Regions from separate parts of the Homo sapiens genome. Here all the other regions are linked to region 2. Evidence: promoter capture Hi-C in human tissues and cell types (Jung and others, 2019). All regions are on one chromosome and are shown on one strand. Each heading gives the region's core, a stretch centred on a gene start or on the middle of the fragment in contact. The rest is flanking DNA. Distances are from core to core; before and after follow the strand shown. Region 1 holds the start of PLTP (phospholipid transfer protein). Region 2 holds the start of DBNDD2 (dysbindin domain containing 2). Region 3 holds the start of ACOT8 (acyl-CoA thioesterase 8). Region 4 overlaps TOMM34 (translocase of outer mitochondrial membrane 34). Region 5 holds the start of ZSWIM1 (zinc finger SWIM-type containing 1).

What was found. Contacts are between HindIII fragments. The study calls those that stand out against the background at their distance.
Region 1: a contact is called between the fragment with the promoter of PLTP here and the fragment with the promoter of DBNDD2 in region 2, in 1 of the 25 tissues and cell types used here (neural progenitor cells).
Region 3: the fragment with the promoter of ACOT8 here is called in contact with the fragment with the promoter of DBNDD2 in region 2 in 1 of the 25 tissues and cell types used here (dorsolateral prefrontal cortex).
Region 4: a contact is called between a fragment that was not itself captured here and the fragment with the promoter of DBNDD2 in region 2, in 2 of the 25 tissues and cell types used here (dorsolateral prefrontal cortex and spleen).
Region 5: the fragment with the promoter of ZSWIM1 here is called in contact with the fragment with the promoter of DBNDD2 in region 2 in 3 of the 25 tissues and cell types used here (IMR-90 fibroblasts, aorta and mesendoderm cells).

The regions. Positions count from the first base shown.
Region 1 is chr20:45,910,905-45,914,519 of GRCh38, forward strand. It overlaps PLTP (phospholipid transfer protein), which reads right to left and starts at 1,251. Exons shown (of 16, transcript NM_006227.4): 1 at 1,175-1,251; 2 at 449-559; 3 at 248-347. The coding sequence starts at 548. The HindIII fragment of the contact is 16,312 bases long and covers 1-3,615 here.
Region 2 is chr20:45,406,796-45,410,136 of GRCh38, forward strand. DBNDD2 (dysbindin domain containing 2) reads left to right here and starts at 1,494. Exons shown (of 3, transcript NM_001048225.4): 1 at 1,494-1,811; 2 at 2,006-2,143; 3 at 3,137-3,341. The coding sequence starts at 1,673. It overlaps SYS1-DBNDD2 (SYS1-DBNDD2 readthrough (NMD candidate)), which reads left to right. Exons shown (of 6, transcript NR_003189.2): 4 at 1,665-1,811; 5 at 2,006-2,143; 6 at 3,137-3,341. LOC107985404 (a long non-coding RNA gene) reads right to left here and starts at 1,094. Exons shown (of 5, transcript XR_007067608.1): 1 at 954-1,094. RefSeq lists an enhancer at 82-631. The HindIII fragment of the contact is 23,713 bases long and covers 1-3,341 here.
Region 3 is chr20:45,855,669-45,859,397 of GRCh38, forward strand. It overlaps ACOT8 (acyl-CoA thioesterase 8), which reads right to left and starts at 1,724. Exons shown (of 6, transcript NM_005469.4): 1 at 1,520-1,724. The coding sequence starts at 1,647. ZSWIM3 (zinc finger SWIM-type containing 3) reads left to right here and starts at 1,946. Exons shown (of 2, transcript NM_080752.4): 1 at 1,946-2,312. The coding sequence starts at 2,158. The HindIII fragment of the contact is 14,613 bases long and covers 1-3,729 here.
Region 4 is chr20:44,942,742-44,946,514 of GRCh38, forward strand. TOMM34 (translocase of outer mitochondrial membrane 34) reads right to left here. Exons shown (of 7, transcript NM_006809.5): 6 at 712-838; 7 at 1-472. The coding sequence ends at 368. Among named protein-coding and RNA genes, the nearest start is that of TOMM34, 16 kb to the right of the region's middle. The HindIII fragment of the contact is 5,142 bases long and covers 1-3,773 here.
Region 5 is chr20:45,879,490-45,883,077 of GRCh38, forward strand. ZSWIM1 (zinc finger SWIM-type containing 1) reads left to right here and starts at 1,738. Exons shown (of 2, transcript NM_080603.5): 1 at 1,738-1,772; 2 at 3,044-3,588. The coding sequence starts at 3,104. RefSeq lists enhancers at 1,448-1,497, 1,748-1,827. The HindIII fragment of the contact is 12,007 bases long and covers 1-3,588 here.

The sequences.
Region 1 (3,615 bases), core at 1-2,500, 500 kb after region 2:
CTGGTCCTGCTTCCTTCTTGGCCCCCTCTACATTTTCAAGGCCACGCCCATCTGCCTGGTCCCGCCTATGATGACTGGCTTGGCCTTTATCTTTTCGGCCCCATCCGGTTTCTTAAGTCTTGCCTCATCGATTTGGCCACGCCCCATCCCACTCAGCCTCCAGTCTCCCGAGACCCTGAGATTTCTCGGGCCCCGCCTCCACCGCCGAGGCCCCGCCCCGGATCGCGAGGCCCCGCCCCCCACTTACTCAGAGATGTTGTAGTAGAAGTGGCCTTCTTTGCCCCGCAGGTCCGGAATGGTGATAGTCTCCAGCTCTTGCTCCAGAAAGCGCAGCCCCTCCTGCTTCACTGAAGCAGCAGAGAAACCCTTACTTAGCTCCCGTGCCCACTGTTGGGGCGACCCCAACCCCGTCCGCTCCCGTCCGTCCCTGTCTGCCCCTGCGCCTTACCCAGCTCCAGCGCCTTGGAGGTGACGCGGATCTTGCAGCCTGGGAACTCTGCATGTGCGCCTGCCAGCAGCGCTAGGAAGAGGGCCCCGAAGAGGGCCATGGCGAGCGGGCCTGGGGGTGGGGTGGGGTCGCAGGAGTTATCTGAGCCGCTTAAACCCATTCCTTGGACGTCCAACCATAAGTGGGAACTAGCCTGGATCGTTACCCTCCAGATAACTCTTCGGGGAACTTGGAACCAATAATCTTGCCTCCATATGGCAGATGTGGAAACTGAGGCTCAGAGAGGCGATGCGACTTGCGTTCTGGCTCCCAGAGGATTTGGGACACGGGGGAGGGGACGTTCCCAGTTCCCTCGTGCTACCGCCGCGTGATGAGTTTGGACCTCCAGGGGACCAGCCCCCACACCCCCAACAACCTCCCCTTTCCTTTAGCGGTGGGCCCATGCAGGCTTGCACGTTGCCACGGCAACGACTGCACGCGCATTCTTGGAGGGTGGCTTGCGGTCTCCTAGGCCTCGCGCCCGGGGAGGAGAGGAGGTGGCCGACCAGACCGTGGGCTCCCGGGTCTCCCGGCTCCCTCAGGTCCTAAATCTCTCCCATTAGAGATTCTGCCTGGAGCCCCCATGTTAGCGTTCTCCTTCATCGGCTCTCCTCCCCACGCCGGCTTCAGTGCACCACGCGGCTCGGCGAGGGACTGGGAACGGGATAGGGACGCGCCCCAACTCACTCAGCGGTGGAGCTGGGGGGCGGCGCGGTCACGTGGGATGGCGGGCAGCTCAGGGGATCCGGGCGACGGGGTCTGGCGGGCAGGGTTGTTCCAGCCGCCTTTATAAAGCCGGCCTCCCCGACCCCTCCTCCTCTCTGCAGCTCTCCCCTCCTCCCTTGGGGGCTGGGAGGGGACGGGGCGGGACGCTGGCAGCCGGGAGAGTGGAAAAGGCTGCACAGAGCCCCGTGACAAGCCCGGCCGCTGTCTGGACAAGTGGGAGACCCAAGCCCAGGGAGAGGGAAGGAAATGCAGGAGCCGGCCCACTCAGCCCCAACAATCCCACTTTGCTGGGACCTTGGTTCAAATTACAATTATCCATGTCTTCCTGCATGATCTTGGGCAAGTCACTTCACTTGGGTCACTGACCCTCAGTTTCTTCCTTCAGCGAAATGTGCACGATGATAGGAACTACCTCTTGGGCCTTTATTACAACCAGGTCCAGGCACAAAGTCAAGGAATATTTTTTCTTTCCCTGCCACCCACAATCATCTCGGGACCTCCTTGCCTGGCTTTGCTATGGGCCCCCCTACCTGTCTCTGTGTCACCACCTGGGGACCTTAAGGTCCCAGAGACCTTTCCCACTTGGGAAAGCAAGACTAGACAAGTGCTGTCAGCCCAGGAACATACCACACCGGCTGAAATCAGAAGGAGGTCTGCCATTTATCGTGGCTGGTGGATTGTTTTTTCTATTTTTTTTATTTTTATTTTTTGAGACGGAGTCTCGCTCTGTCCCCCAGGCTGGAGTGCAGTGGCGCGATCTCGGCTCCCTGCAAGCCCCGCCTCCCGGGTTCACGCCATTCTCCTGCCTCAGCCTCCCCAGCAGCTGGGGCTACAGGCGCACGCTGCCACGCCCGGCTAATTTTTTTTGTATTTTTAGTAGAGACGGGGTTTCACCGTGTTAGCCAGGATGGTCTCGATCTCCTGACCTTGTGATCCGCCCGCCTCGGCCTCCCAAAGTGCTGGGATTAAAGGCATGAGCCACCGCGCCCGGTCCACTGGTGGATTTTTTAATGAACCCTTGGAGCAAGGTGCTCTGAACAGCATCCCCGCCCCCACCCCCACCCCCACCTCCATCTACTGCTTACAGGGTTCCCGGACCCTAGGACAGGGCACAGAGTGGGTGCTTGCCACCTTTTTGTTGCCAAATGGACGAAAGAAAGGGGAAGCAATAATCATGTCTGCTGAGCATGTATTTAGCACCAAACACTCATCTAGGAAGGATGACTAACTCATCCTGATTTGCCTAGGACTTTCCCCATTGTGTCTTTTTTTTCTGATATAATCCACAGATTCACAAAAATAGTTCCATTTCCTTTTTTATTTAATTAATTAATTAATTTTTTTGAGACACAGTCGTGCTCTGTCACCAGGCTGCAGTGCGGTGGTGTGATCTTGGCTCACTGCAACCTCTGCCTCCTGGGTTCAAGTGATTCTCCTGCCTCAGCCTCCCAAGTAGCTGGGACTACAGCCATGTGCCACCACACCTGGCTAATTTTTGTATTTTTAGTGGAGACAGGGTTTTGCCATTTTGGCCAGGCTGGTCTTGAACTCCTGCCCTCAAGTGATCCGCCTGCCTTAGCCTCCCAAAGTGCTGGGATTACAGGTGTGACCCACCATGCCCAGCCTATTTATTTATTTTTATTTATTTATTTAAGATGGAGTTTCTCTCTTGTTGCCCAGGCTGGAGTGCAATGGCGCAATCTCGGCTCACTGCAACCTCCGCCTACCAGGTTCAAGCAATTCTCCTACCTCAGCCTCCCAAGTAGCTGGGATTACAGGCACCCACCACTACGCTCAGCTAATTTTTTGTATTTTTAGTAGAGATATGGTTTCGCTATGTTGGCCAGGCTGGTTTCGAACGCCTGACCTCAGGCAATCCACCTGCCTTGGCCTCCCAAAGTGCTGGGATTACAGGCGTGAGCCACCGCGCCCGGCCGCCTATTTATATTTTTAGAGACAGGGTCTTGCTCTGTTGCCCAGGCTGGAGTGCAGTGGTACAATCACGGCTCACTGAAGCCTCCACCTCTTGGGCTCAAGCGATCTTCCCACCTCAGCCTCCTGAGTAGCTAGGACTACAGGCAGGTGGTACCATGTCATGTCCAGCTAAGTTTTGTATTTTTTGTAGAGACAGGTCTCACCATGTTGCCCAGGCTGATCTTGAACTCCTGGACCCAAGTGATCCTCTTGCCTTGGGCTCCCAAAGTGCTGGGATTACAGGCGTGAGCCACACATCCAGCCATCCCCATTTTGAAACCATTCCTGGGAACCCACTCAGTCCCTGGGAAACCTTACAACTGGTCATCCGAATTCTAGGTAATTTATTTAACCTTAACAACCTGTCAGACTGGCACTATTATGAACCCTCTTTAACAGGAAGTAGAGGTTGAAGCAATTCTGTGGCT
Region 2 (3,341 bases), core at 244-2,743:
AGGGGAACGGCCTTGGGGGAGCGCCCTCCCCCCGTCCTCCGCCGACGCCTCGTGTCCCTTTTTAGGGAATTTTTTCCCTCTTGCTGGCTCCAGTGCGGGTGGGGCTGAGACCGAGAGGGAGTTCTCCATTTCGCTGGCTCCTGCCCGGCCCCTGGCAGCCTCCTGCCCCCAAATCTCTTCACCCCCTTTCCAGTACCTATAGGTCGCGTAAACAACTCCCTTTCTCCAGCTCTGGGCTCCGCGGCCCCCCGGGGGACAGCTCCTTCAGTCTCGTGAGATCGGTGGGGTTAGGGGGAGGGGAAAAGAGAGGGGGTGTCCCAGAGCCCCTGGCCCCCGTCAGCTCCCCCACCTTGGCCTCTCCCTCCCCCTCCTCGCTGCTGGAGCACAGGCTCCAGGGGCCCTGGGTATTTTTAGCGTTGTGACCTGGGCGGCAGCTCTAAGAGCCTTTCCCGGGAATCGGCGTCAGCGCCTCGCTCCTCCGCCGCCAGCCCGCGGCCGCACGGTCTCCCCAGACTTCCGTGGCCCTGCCTTGGCCAGTCGGGGTTGGGTCCCTCTCCACCTCTGTGGCGCCCGTGGAGCTGGCCAGGGTCTGGGATACGCTGGGTGCAGATGAGGTGGGGAAGGCAGTCTGCGGAGGATGACGTCTGATCCTCAAGCTAGAAACTCCCTTGCCTCTGGTGATGGGCTCAGAGCAGAACGCCGGGAAGGAGATGAGCGAATGGGAATGAATGCACCGACCTGGGCTGGCCCATAGCCTCAGTGCTCTGGCAGGGTCTCAGCTTCTCAGCCCTAGGGGTCAGGAGGCCTGCTCTGAACTGGACCCAGAACCCGCCTTTCCAATTGCTCCTCACTGACTAATGGGGAGATAAGTCAGTGAGATGTGTCCCAGGAGGGGGACGCATAAAGAGCTGTTGGAGTTCAAAGGAAAGATGGTAGTCTCCTAAATAGCTCACCTTCACAAGCAGGGTCTTGTATTTGAGGCAGGTAGGTTGGTTATGCCATTTTCAGATGGGGAGACTAAGACCAGAAAGGTGATTTCCTTAGGGGCAGAGCCTAGTCTGGAAGTCAGGCCTGTGACTTCAGAGCAAGGGTTTGGGGTAGATGGCACATGCGTGTGTACGTGTTTGTGTGGGTGGAGAGAAAAGGAGGGGCGCGGGAGGAGTTGCTTTAGCCTTTGTCTGGGTTTTGAAGGATGGGAAGGGGTGGGCTGCAGCACTGGAGGAAGGGAACCCTCCACCCTGAGATCTCTGTCTCTATCCTATCCTGTCCCTGGCCTTCTGAGGCAAGCGGGGCCAATTAAGGGGAAAACGTACCTCCTCCATTTGTGCTGAACCAATCCCTCCAACCCCTCTCAGGAGGGCATGATATGGAGAGTTGGGCATTGGCTGTGTTCCCTGAATACAGAGTATCTCTCTTGTGGTGCCTGGAACTGGCATCCCCTTTGTGGAGCTTAGGGCAAGCCCCGCCTCTGCATGAGACTTGGTTTGTGGGACACACTTGGTTTCAGGGAAGGGGAAAGAGGTCACCAAGGGCAGAGGTGTCCAGGCCGGAGCCAGGGGCCCCACTGTTGGGATGCTGGCTGCAGTGGGGCGCCCCAAGCCCAGGTCCCCTCTGTCTTCTCTTTCGACTTTGCAGCTGTACTTGTTTTGCTCCTCTACCCGCAGGAGCTGACATGGACCCAAATCCTCGGGCCGCCCTGGAGCGCCAGCAGCTCCGCCTTCGGGAGCGGCAAAAATTCTTCGAGGACATTTTACAGCCAGAGACAGAGTTTGTCTTTCCTCTGTCCCATCTGCATCTCGAGTCGCAGAGACGTAAGTCCCAAGTCCTGAGAAGAGGGACTGGGGTAGGGTAGGGAGGATGTCCTGTGGGTCCTGAATCTTGTGGCACTCTCTCCCCTCTGGTTTTCTTGGCCCTCTATGCTTCTAACTTGGGACCTGACATGTAACTCTCACTGTCCTGGTGTGCAGCTTGGGTCCTCCTGACTTGCCCACTTCTTGATCCGCAGCCCCCATAGGTAGTATCTCATCCATGGAAGTGAATGTGGACACACTGGAGCAAGTAGAACTTATTGACCTTGGGGACCCGGATGCAGCAGATGTGTTCTTGCCTTGCGAAGATCCTCCACCAACCCCCCAGTCGTCTGGTATGCCCCTCTGCTTTGGGGACTTCAGTGCCAGTCAGCCAGAGCCGGATGTCAGGCTCTGAAACGAGGCTACAAGGCTGGGCTGGGGAAGTACACAAGTAAGGGCTGGAAGTGGGTGTTTCTACCAATGAAACAGCTGCCTGTTCTGATTTTAGGGAAGTTGACCCTGAGGGAGAACTGGGTTACACATCTCTAATCCAAAATTCTGGGAACGGTCAATCTCTTCTTTAATTTTACATTTGTTATATTAATATAATTAGTCACTATAATTAAAATAATGTAAAATTGTAATTTTTATATTTGGCAACTTAAGTAGTTTTAGTCATTATAATGATATTAATATGTATTGAGTACTTTAGTAGGTTCCAATACTGTACTAAAGTACTTTACATATATTATCTCAATCCTTACAACGTCCTGTCAGGGTAGGTGATATAATCTCTATTTTATAAGCAGGAAATTAGGCTCAGAGAAGTTAAGTCACATTGTAGCCAGAAGGTAGATAAACTGGAATTCATGTCTGTCTGACTCCAAAGCCCATATGCTTAACTTGTAAGATAGATATTCTTTTAATTAAAACTGCTACTATTTATTGATGGCTTACTATGCCAGACATTTTATAAGCATTCTTAGGTTTTATTCCCAAAACCCTTTGGGGATGTAGGTATCCCTTTTATTTTGCAGAGGAGGAACAGAGTCCTTGAAAGGGAAAGTGACTTGCTCAAAGCCACTCAGCAGCAATAAGTGATGTAGGTGGAACTTGAACTCTTGCCATTCATTGACCTGACTGTAGATCCCAGACATGGTGTAATGACGTGGAAGGAGCTGGCAGTCAGGAGATGGTGATCTTAATCCTGGCTCTTTGCTGGATTGGCAAAGTCACTTTGGACAAGTCTCTGCCCCACTGTGGACTTTAGTTACTCCTGGCCAGATAATCTTTAAGAGTTCTCTGAAGCCCTGTTTGTGGCCTGACCAGCTTTTCTCTCTGGGCAGGGATGGACAACCATTTGGAGGAGCTGAGCCTGCCGGTGCCTACATCAGACAGGACCACATCTAGGACCTCCTCCTCCTCCTCCTCCGACTCCTCCACCAACCTGCATAGCCCAAATCCAAGTGATGATGGAGCAGATACGCCCTTGGCACAGTCGGATGAAGAGGAGGAAAGGGGTGATGGAGGGGCAGAGCCTGGAGCCTGCAG
Region 3 (3,729 bases), core at 474-2,973, 450 kb after region 2:
CTTGAACCCAGGAGGCAGAGGTTGAGGTGAGCCAAGATCGCACCACTGCACTCCAGCCTGGGTGACAGAGCAAGACTCCATCTCAAAAAATAAAATTAAATAAATGTATAAATGAATAAATAACAAGAGCCCTCAGACATCAAGTCTAACTCCTTCAGTGTACAGATGAGAAAACTGCAGCTTGGCCCCAGAGATGAAAATGCTTGCCCAGAATGTAGGCCCATTGGAAGCTGAATAATTATGTCTCTAGCCTCCCACGTCCCAGCTGTTTGGCATTTTCTGTAACAATGAGTTATGAACAGCCCTCCATGACCTGGCAGGTGGCTCTCGCCTGTAATCAATCCCAGCACTTTGGGAAGCCGAGGTGGGAGGATCGCCTGAGCCCATGAGTTCAAAACCAGCCTGGGCTCCAAAGTGGGGCCTCATGTCTACTAAAAATAAAAAAGTTAGCTGGATGTGGTGGCAAGCGCTTATGGTCCCAGCTAAACGGGAGACTGAGGCAGAAGGGTCACTTGGGCCCAGGAGGTCGAGGTTGCAGTGAGCCATGTTCGTGCCACTGCACTCCAGCCTGGACAACAGGGCCAGATCTTGTCTTCAAAAACAAAAATCAAATAGCCCTCCAAGAAGTTATTTACAATTCCTTAAGTGGAAGGAAGGGAGCTCAAAGTAAGATAACTTCCAGTAAAGCCAGGAGAAGCCTTGGAGGTCAAAGCTGTTAGAAGCCTTGCTGCAGGGGGCTGGGCGCGGTGGCTCATGCCTGTAATCCTAGCACTTTGGCAGAGGTGGGCAGATTACAAGGTCAGGAGTTCGAGACCAGCCTGGCCAACACGGTGAAACCCCGTCTCTACTAAAAGAAGTTAAAAAATTAGCTGGGCTGTGGCGCGCCTGTATGTCCCAGCTAATCAGGAGGCTGAGGCAGGAGAAATGCTTGAACCCGGGAGGCGGAGGTTGCACTGAGCCGAGATCGCACCACTGCACTCCAGCCTGGGCAACAGAGCAAGACTCCGCCTCAAAGAAAGAAAGAAACCCTTGCTGCAGTCAAGAACTTCAGCGATGCTGGGAAAGAAAAAAACATGCTTAGGCCTCAGAATAAGTAATGAGAAACCAGACCCACCAAATGGTACTGGGGGCGGGATATTGTGAGAAGAAAAGGATACTGAAGACACAAGGAGCTGCGGCGTCGGTTTTAAGGCTGATCCATCAGCTGTGTGCCCTTGGGCAAATCACTGCCCTCTCTGGGCTAGCTCCCCCGTGAAGGCTTAGGGCAGGCTGCCGAGCAGGGTCTCTCAGGTCACCACTATATTTGCTCAGCTGTGCAGACCTCGCAGCGCGGAGAGGAAGGGAGGAAGCCAGAGCAGAGAGGACAGCTCTGTTGGGGGCGAGTTCTCTCCTAATCGTGGCAGAGGGTGCATCCCACGCAGAGCCATACTAGTCCCGGAGCCAGGGGCCCCGGGCGGCGGCAGTCAAGATCAAGTTTCTGCCCTAAAGGAGGGGATGCTGGGCAGGAGCTGCCGGCTACCTGAAGAGATCCTCGTCCAGCGGCTCGAGGTTGAGCACGGTCGTGACCAAGACGCTACGGAGGTCCCCAGGGGGATCGCCGCGGTCGCCACAGCCCTGCCCATCTTCTGGGGCCTGCGGGGACGACATCTAGTTCAATGCTGCAGGCCCTGCACACCCGCTCCGCGGAAGACGCGGAGACATACACAGAACCTGACTCTTCCGGCAGATTGCCCTAGTAACCGGAAGTCTCCTGCAGACCCCGGGAAGGAGGAATCTAGGTTATGATTGGTCAGGACTCCTGTCAGTCCGCTGGTGGCTGTGGCCCTCTTTCTCTAGCAATTGGAGAAAATGAATGCCAATCTGCGAATCCTGTGTGTGACTGGATATGTCGCTGAGGAGGCGGAACCTCGGGACTGGATAATATGGACTGAGTGTCATTTCCCCTGTCAGATAGCAAATACACCCCCTTCCTCTTGTAACCCGGTCAGGCCTAGGGTTCCTCCCTGAGTTCCAGAATAGGCCACCCAGTTGGGGCGGACCCTTAAGGCATTCTGGGCCCACGCCTGCCTATAAACCCTCATAGTGTGACCTTTGACCCCTGGTGTGATCTTGGGCCCGGGCTGGGACCAGCCCCTAGTGTGGGTTGTGGGGGCGGCCATGGAGCTGGGCAGCTGCTTCAAGACCTATGAGGACTTCAAGGAGTGCTTCAGCGCCTACAAAAGGGAGAACAGGTGCTCCTTCATTCTCAGGGACTGCGTCTCCGTCCGCTTCCACAACCTCAACCATGGCACCTCCATCCGCGAAGACATCCTGTAAGGGCGGGCGGGGCGGGGCGGGCCAAGAGGGTGGGGAGGAGGCTGGACCTCCGGAGGGCTGCCTGGAGGAGGAGGGGTGCATAGGCACGCATTGGGCTGCGTGGCCATTCATTCAACAGGCACTCATTGAGCACCTGCTGTGTGCCTTGTGAAGAGAGCTAAGCCTCCACGGCCATTGGTTTTTGACCACCCACTCCACTTTCACTCCATTCACAGGCTTTTCTGGAATTTATAACTGCAGTTTCTCCCATTGTTTTGAGCAGCTGCAGCAACCCAAATACAAAGTATGGCTTTCATAAACGGATAAAAACACCTTGGCGATAATTTCCTTCATCAGTCTCCTCTTTACAAAACAGTCACATGGTCGTTGGAATGTTCGTTCATTCATTCATTCAGTTTTTAGTTCTTATATATTTGTTGAAACAGGGTCTCACTCTGTCCCCCAGGCTGGAGTGCAGTGGCACAATCAGCTCACTGAGCCTTCAACTGCTGGGCTCAAGCGATCCTCCCACCTCAGCCTCTCAAGTAGTTGGAACTGGAGGTGCACGCCACCATGCCTGGCTAATTATTTGATTTTGTACAGACTGGGTCTTGTTATGTTGGCTAGGCTGTTCCCAGACTCCTGGACTAAGCGATCTTTCGGCGTCTCAAAGTGTTAGGATTACAGGCATGAGCCACTATGCCTGGTCTATTCATTCATTTTGTAAATGGTTTTTGAGCTCCTTATATTAACCGTTTTCAAACACTTTCCATGTGCCAGGCAGTGTTCTCTATGCATGCTTTACCCTGCAGGGCTTTTTTTTCAGAATTATAGATAAATGTTATTTTTTTGCATTTGACAGATGAGAAGATTTGACAGATGAGAAGTCAGGCTTAGAGGTTAAGACAGGAGTTGAAAACTCAAATGCCTTCAGGGATTAGGTGAAACAACCCAATGTAAGAAAGTTTTAACTTTGAATTTTACTTTAAGAAAAAGAATGATGAAATAGCAACCAACACCAGGTCTTTGTGCTAGGGACAACAGAAGTGTGAAATGGGCCAAATGGAGAGTAGATGCCATCTAATCAGCTCCAGCTGATGGCTGCCATATGAAAATAAAGATCTAGTGTTGCCAGAATTTTGGGCAAGAGTTGTCAGAAATCCACACTTTATGTGGATTTTCCCATTTAAAAAAATTGAATCAGTTCAAATTTTAACTCAGAGCATGCGGGCCAACTCAGAGTTAAAGCATATCCGAGTTTGAGACTTGGATTGAGATGCTCAACCAAAGCTCCTCAATTAGACAGCCAGGCTATATTCTTTCCACTGTTCTGAAGTCCAGTGCTATGCTGGGTATAGGTGACATAAAGATGAATAAGTGTTCAAACTATCCCCAGAGAACTAGGATAAACTTGAACTCAAGCAAACTGGTGTG
Region 4 (3,773 bases), core at 112-2,611, 460 kb before region 2:
TGGGGAAGCTACAAGGGCAGCACTCAGTCTGCAGCCCACTTGGGCAGGACAAAGCCAAATGCTTTGCTGATGAGGATCTGTTGGTGTGATCAGCTAGCTGGGCTGGGGGAATAGGGACAGAGCTTCAGCTTCACGCTTAGCTCTAGTGGGGACCTTTCTGGTGCAACAACCATGTCTGTGTTTGACTACACTGAGTTTAATTTGAACAAGCAAAGCCTCTTACAGGGTGGGAGGCCATCAAGGGATTGAGGAGGGGGCTTCAGAGCTCACTTGGGGCATGCTGGGTTTCAGGAGCGGGCACAGAGCAGGTGGCCCATGGCTTCTCTGGGTAAGGTCAGGCAGGGGTTCCAGTTGCCCTGTTGGGTTTTTAGTGTAGGTTCTGCTTCACTTCCTGCCGCAACTTCTGTGCAGGACCATTCCTAGGCTCAATCTGTAGGAGGTTGCTGATGTCTGCAAAGCTGGATTTATAGTCCTAATAGAAGAAAAGACAGGAGTGTGGGGGAAGGTTCCCGGACTGGGGTGGGGATAGCTGCTGAGGCAGCAAAGTGTTTTCAAACCCCAGCCCACAGGCCTGCTCTGAGTTATCCTGGGCCCAGGATGAGAAGGAAAAGCTGCAGATATTGTCTCAGCTTGGCTACACCCTGTAAATGGTGACACTGGCATAAATCTCTGTAGCTATGTTGGGACCTTTTGGCCAGGATTTTTTTTTACCTTGAGTGCTTTGTGGGCTTGAGCCCGTCTGTAGAATGCCTTCACGTTCTTTCCATCCAGCTTGAGGGCTTCTGTGCAGTCCTTCACTGCTTCTGTGTACTGCTTCAGGACCAAATAGCAGAGTGCTCTGAAGGGAAAGACCATTTCAGAGGTTTCAGTCACGTCTTATGGGCCACCCACATGCCACGCAGTAGTTTGAGAAGTGATCTCCAATTTGCTGAACACCTACTCTGTGCTGGTTACTTTATGTCTTCTTAAATCCTCACAACAATCCTAGCCCTTTTCATGGATGAAACATGCTGGCTCAGAAGGGTAAAGGAACTTGGGCCAGGTACCGCCAGTATTAAGGGGCAGACCCAGGATTCAAATAGGCGGGCGTTCGTTCATGGGACTCCAGATCCTGATCTCATCTAGTTCTATCATGCTGTACTGCGCTCTCCTATACTGAGCTCTTTCAAGCAAAGAAAAGGTTTCCTGAAACTTTTCCCTTGACAGATTAAAAAATTATCTACTTTAAGGGGGAAAAAAAAACCCAACAACTACTGAACTCTAATGATATAATGCTGACATGGGGTGAAATGTAAAGACGTTTGCAATTTACTTTTAAGTGCATCAAACACAATAATACAGACCAACAGATGGCTAAATAGTGATAAGGCAATGTAATAATACTAATTGTAGAATTTAGATGGTAGGTCTATGGGTGTTCAATGTACAAATCTTTCAACTTTCCTATATTTTGAACATTTTCATAATAAAATGTTGGAAAAAAGTTATGTGCATCCATACAATATATTCTGCATCTGTGGGTTCAAAAAAGTGCATGTGTGTATATATCTTCCTCATTCAGATCTAGTCCTTCTCTCCAAAGACAGTCACTAAAAACAAAACAGTCAGATGTCTGGGCGCTCATTACATAAGTTCATCTGTTCCACCTCACTGTTTTCAGTGGGTGCAGGGTATTCACTAAGTTGGATGTAGCATAATTTATTTTACCAATTTCCTATCAAGAGGTATTTTTCATTGTTTCCAGTTTGTAAATAAGTGATGCCATGATGAACATCCTTGTGCAAGGGACTGCTGTATCCAAAGATACATGCATTTTAAAACCTGACTGGCCAGGTGCAGTGGCTCATGCTTATAATCCCAGCACTTTGGGAGGCCAAGGTGGGAAGGTCACTTGAGCCCAGGAGTTTGAGACCAGCCTGGGCAACATAGGGAGACCCCATCTCTTAAACAAAACAAAACAAAAAAAGAAATAAAATCTGATTGTTACTGCCAAAATGCTTTCCAAAAAAGCTGAATAGTTATTGACAGAGCCTATTTTCCTACAACTGTACCAACTTTGGGTCTTAAATTTTCATGTATGCCAATATGGAATAAAACACTATCTCACTGCCTTAGCTGCTTAGTTGTGGGTAAAGCTGAACATCTTTAATAAGGGTTTTTAATCTTTTGAAATCAAACTTCTCTAACTTTTCCTTTAACGACTTCTGTAACATTTTTTTCCCTTCACATAAGAATACCTTCCCCACTGCAAGATAGTTAATCCATGTGTTCTTCTAGAACTTAATGGTTTCGCTTTTTACATTCCAAACTGTGATCCACTCAGAACTTACTTTAAAATAAGAAGCAAGGTAGGATTCAAGTTTAACTCTAACCTGGCCAACCCAACACCTCTTATTAAATAATCTCTCTTTGCCCCAGACTTTATTATACACCAGATTCTCTCATGTCGTTGTTCTCATTTTTTTCTGACTTATCATGAATTTAAAGAAGAAAATTCTACTAGTCCTTTGTGATTGCATGGAATTCATAAATTAACGGAGAGAAAAATCTTCTTGTAACAACTTAAAAGACAGGCACAAATTCTTTGGCAATCCTCCACTGAGAGGCGGAGGTGTATCTGCTCTCTCTCTTTGAATTCGGGCAGGCTCTGTGACTGCTCTGACCAACAGAGGACAGAGGAAGGGACACGATGTGACTTCCAAGGTTAGGTCATAATAGGCCTTGCAGCTTCCACCTTGGTCTCTGGAAACACTCGCTCTTGGAGCCTTGAACTGACAGGGAAGAAGCCAACTACTCTGAGGCCACCACGCTCTCAGGAAGCTCACAGCAGCACACATGAAAAGGCTGCTAAGAAAGTGGAAAGAGGTGCCAGCTTGCTCTAGCAGTTCCATCACCCAGCCATTTGAGTCAGGCAGCCCAGCTGCCAGACATTCGAGGAAGAAGGCTTTAGAGGATTCCAGCCCCAGCTACCATCTTGCTGACCCTGCATGAGAGACCCCAAATGAGAACTGCCCTTCCCTAATTCCTGACTCCACAAATTACAAGCAAAATAAAATGGTTGTTGTAAATCACCAAGTTTTAGAATAGTAGCCCGTTTTAAACTTTGAACACAGAAGAATTCCTTTTTTTTTTTGGAGACAGGGTCTCACTCTGTCACCCAGGCTGGAGTGCAGTGGCATGATAACAGCTCACTGCAACCTCCGCCTCCTGGGTTCAAGCGATTCTCCTACTTCAGCCTCCCGAGTAGCTGGGATTACAGGTGCATGCCACCATGCCCAGCTAACTTTTGTATTTTTTGGTAGAGATGGGGTTTCACCATGTTGGCCAGCCTGGTCTCAAACTCCTAACCTCAAGCAATCTGCCCACCTCAGCCTCCCAAAGTGCTGGGATTACAGGCATGAGCCACCTCTAAACATAGAGGAATTCTAAGGAAATTAAAGTTTCCTCCCAATGGGCTTGGCAATTTAAAGAAATAGCCAAGTGTCTGGGAAGCAGAGGAACCACCGTGTATCGTGACTTCAGAATAGAAATGTGATTAATAGGGTCATGTGAGACTTCTAAAGACTATATTTAAGATGAACAAAATGCATAACTTCAGGCAATAAAATAAACCCCCTTGACTTTTGGTAAATGAAGTAACTGTATCCAGTCAGAAGGGTTTTAATTACAAAGGGGTTGGGAAATAACACAAGTGAGTGAAAGGGAAATAAGCTTTGGAGTCACAAAGATCTGGCTTAAATCTCAGCCACCATGTACTAGTTGTTTAACTTTGT
Region 5 (3,588 bases), core at 488-2,987, 470 kb after region 2:
ACTCCAGCCTGGGTGACAGAGTGAGACTCTATCTCAAGCAAAAAACAACAACAAAAAAAAAAGAAAAGAAAATTAAGTATTAGCAACCTAATGGGGTTGTGGAGCCAAATAGAACCTGATGCCTCACATTCAAGGATTTGGCAATCTGCGTCTTAATTTGCCTCCTTCCTACAACTAAGCCTTCAAGGTTGATTTCAGGTTTCCTTATATTCTAGCGGGAAGAGGCCAAATAGACTGGAGGGTGTGGGGGAAAAACCTGAATCTTAGACTTGACTGCCAGCAACTTGCTGGGGAACTGTGGGCAATTTCTTTGACCTCAGTTTCCTCTGTAAAAATTAGCATGTTGGCCTGTTCTAATCCCAGATTTCCCCTCTAGGTTTACATAAGCACCTTTTTGTTTTTTGTTTTGAGATGGAGTTTCGCTCTTGTTGCTTGTTGCCCAGGCTAGAGTGCAATGGCAGAATCTCGGCTCACTGCAACCTCTGCCTACTGGGTTCAAGCGATTCTGCCTCAGCCTCTTGAGTAGCTGGGATTATAAGCATGTGCCACCACGCCTGCCTAATTTTTTGTATTTAGAGATGGGGTTTCACCATGTTGGTCGGGCTGGTCTTGAACTCCCGATCTCAGGCAATCCACCTGCCTCAGCCTCTCAAAGTGCTGGGATTAAAGGGATGACCTACTGCACCCAGCCCAATAACATTTTCGATGCGTAAGTACCAACACTGATTTGATGTTGCTAGTTGGTAATCTTAATCCTCCAAGGCCTGGTAAACACCCAGTTTTCTAAGTCTGCCATCTTCAAGGGAACTGAGGACAAGAGACCAGTTAGTAGGCCCTTGCACTACTGTAGTAGGACCCTAAATAAGTCATGGCATCATTCTGTAGAATACTGGAGGGGGTTGGGCTAGAGAATGCCAAGTTTTGGCTTGTTTAAGGGGATCTGGATTTCCTCAGCTCTAAAAGTTGGGCTCCTGATCCCCGAAGGAGGAGTAGAATTTGAGACCTGGAACTCAGTTTCCCCATAAGGTAGAATATGCGTTATGACTATATATGCACTGTTTCCTAAATTCCAGGGGCTTTAGAGTTTCACACACACACACACAACAAAACAAAACCCGCGGTGGCTCACGCCTGTAATCCCAGCACTTTGGGAGGCTGAGGTGGGCGAATCACGAGGCCAGGAGTTCGAGACCAGCCTGGCCAACAGGGTGAAACCCCGTCTCTACTAAAAATACAAAAAATTAACTGGGCGTGGTGGCGGGTGCCTGTAATCCCAGCTACTCAGGAGGCTGAGGCAGGAGAATCATCGCTTGAACCTGGGAGGCGGAGGTTGCTGTGAGTCGAGATCTTGCCACTGCACTCCATCCCAGGCGACAGTGCGAGACTCCATCTCAAAAAAAGAAAAAGAAAAAATATATATATAACTGCTATTTATTTTCCTTTTCATTTTCTGCTTTTGAGGGAGTTTCCATAGTAACGTGTCCTTCCAGTCGCCTAGCCTGAAGGGAAGCCCCGGAGCTCCAGCTTCAAGGCTCAGCTCTCCCAGATGCAAGTATCTTTACCTCCAGCCAGCTCCTTGTAACCCTGGCAACACGGCCCGCCCGCGAATCGTCACGCTACGATTGGTCCGTGGTGCTAAAGCCTGAAAGCGAATTCCTCAGACATTGGTCCGAGTCACTGCGATGCTGACGCTGTGGTTGGTGAGTTTGGATGTCAGTCAGAGTCGGAGGCAGGGTCAAATAGGGAGAAATGGCGACGGAGCCTGGCTGTGGGTGAGTGCTTCCTGAAGGGGTGAAAGTGTGAGACAGCGGATCACCGCAGTTAGCCGTCACACAGCTCCCAAAGGGATGGGAGGGAGGTTTTCTTCTCATCCGGCTCCAGCTGGACTCTGGGAATGTCAGACATCCACATCTCCCACCCAGGTTAGAGGTGAGAGGTCAAAGGCCGTATTCCCTCTGTTGGTTTTTGGACCCCAGGTACTGTGGACAGCAGTCAGGATCCCGAACCAAAGACTCAACTTTCAGCTACTTACAGAGTAATGGTGGGCAAGTCACTTAGCTTCTTTGAGCCTTAGTTTATCATCTGTAAAATGAGGACAGTAACTCGGTCTGGGGCCAAATAGAGGAAACAATGGAATAGAGTATTGCTGCTAAAAGAGGGATATAGTAGAGGCAGGAGAAGCTATGCACATTTGTTAGCCATATTTTATGGTGGAAGGGATTGAGGCTCAGAGAGGGTCATTGACTTGCCCAAGATAACACAGCAAGTTTGGAGCAATTGCAGTTCTCTTATACATACCAGGACCAAAGGAAAGAATGGATGCCAATCAGTCATTTATAAATATAAAATCGTATTTTTATTTTATTTTATTTTTTGAGACAGAGTTTCACTCTGTCACCCAGAGCTGGAGTGCAGTGGCGCAATCTCGGCTCACTGCAACCTCAGCCTCCTGGGTTCAAGCAGGTCTCCTGCCTCAGCCTCCCGAGTAGCTGAGACTACAGGCATGGGCCACCATACCCGGCTAATTCTTTTTGTATTTTTAGTAGAGACGGGTTTTCACCATGTTGGCCAGGCTGGTCTCGAACTCCCAACCTCAAGTTATCTGCCCACCTTGGCCTCCCAAAGTACTGGGATTACAGGTGTGAGCCACTGCACCTGGCTAGAATGCTATTTTTTTAAAAGGCCATATGCAGCTCTGGCCATACCTATTTAAATCCCCTGGAACCATATCTTTCCATAGCTAACTTCTTATCATTTAGATTTCAGCTCCAATGTCATCCTTCTCCCCTGAGAGGCCTTCCATTACCACTTTAACTAAAGTATCCCTCCCTTCCCCAGCTTACTCTCTGACATGTTACTCAGGTTTATGGTCTTTGTAAGCTTCATTATTGGATATATATTTGCTTATTTGTTTACATGTTTATTGTGTATCTTCCCCTAGAACAGTGCTGACATATAGTAAGTGTTCAACAAATATTGTGTGGATGAATAATTGAAGAGCCAGGTCCCTGCTGTCTCCTTAAACCTCTGTTACTCTCCATAGGCCCATCTTTGGAAAAAAGATCTGGGAATGATTGTCTAGCCTCCAGCCTCAACTTACTTGATGCTTGAGAGACTCAAAGCCCCGTGGTCAGCTGCCCTGCAAAGAAAGTATTTTGACCTTGGCATTTGGACAGCTCCCATCTCTCCCATGGCCCTGACAATGCTGAATGGGCTCCTGATTAAGGACTCAAGCCCACCTATGCTGCTGCACCAGGTTAACAAGACTGCCCAGTTAGATACCTTCAACTACCAGAGCTGCTTTATGCAAAGTGTCTTTGACCATTTCCCTGAGATCTTATTTATCCACCGGACCTATAACCCAAGGGGTAAGGTCTTATATACCTTCCTGGTGGATGGACCTCGGGTGCAGCTGGAGGGTCATCTTGCCCGAGCAGTCTACTTTGCCATCCCTGCCAAGGAGGACACTGAAGGCCTGGCCCAGATGTTCCAAGTATTCAAGAAGTTTAATCCAGCATGGGAGAGAGTCTGTACCATCCTGGTGGATCCTCATTTCCTTCCACTGCCTATCCTAGCTATGGAGTTCCC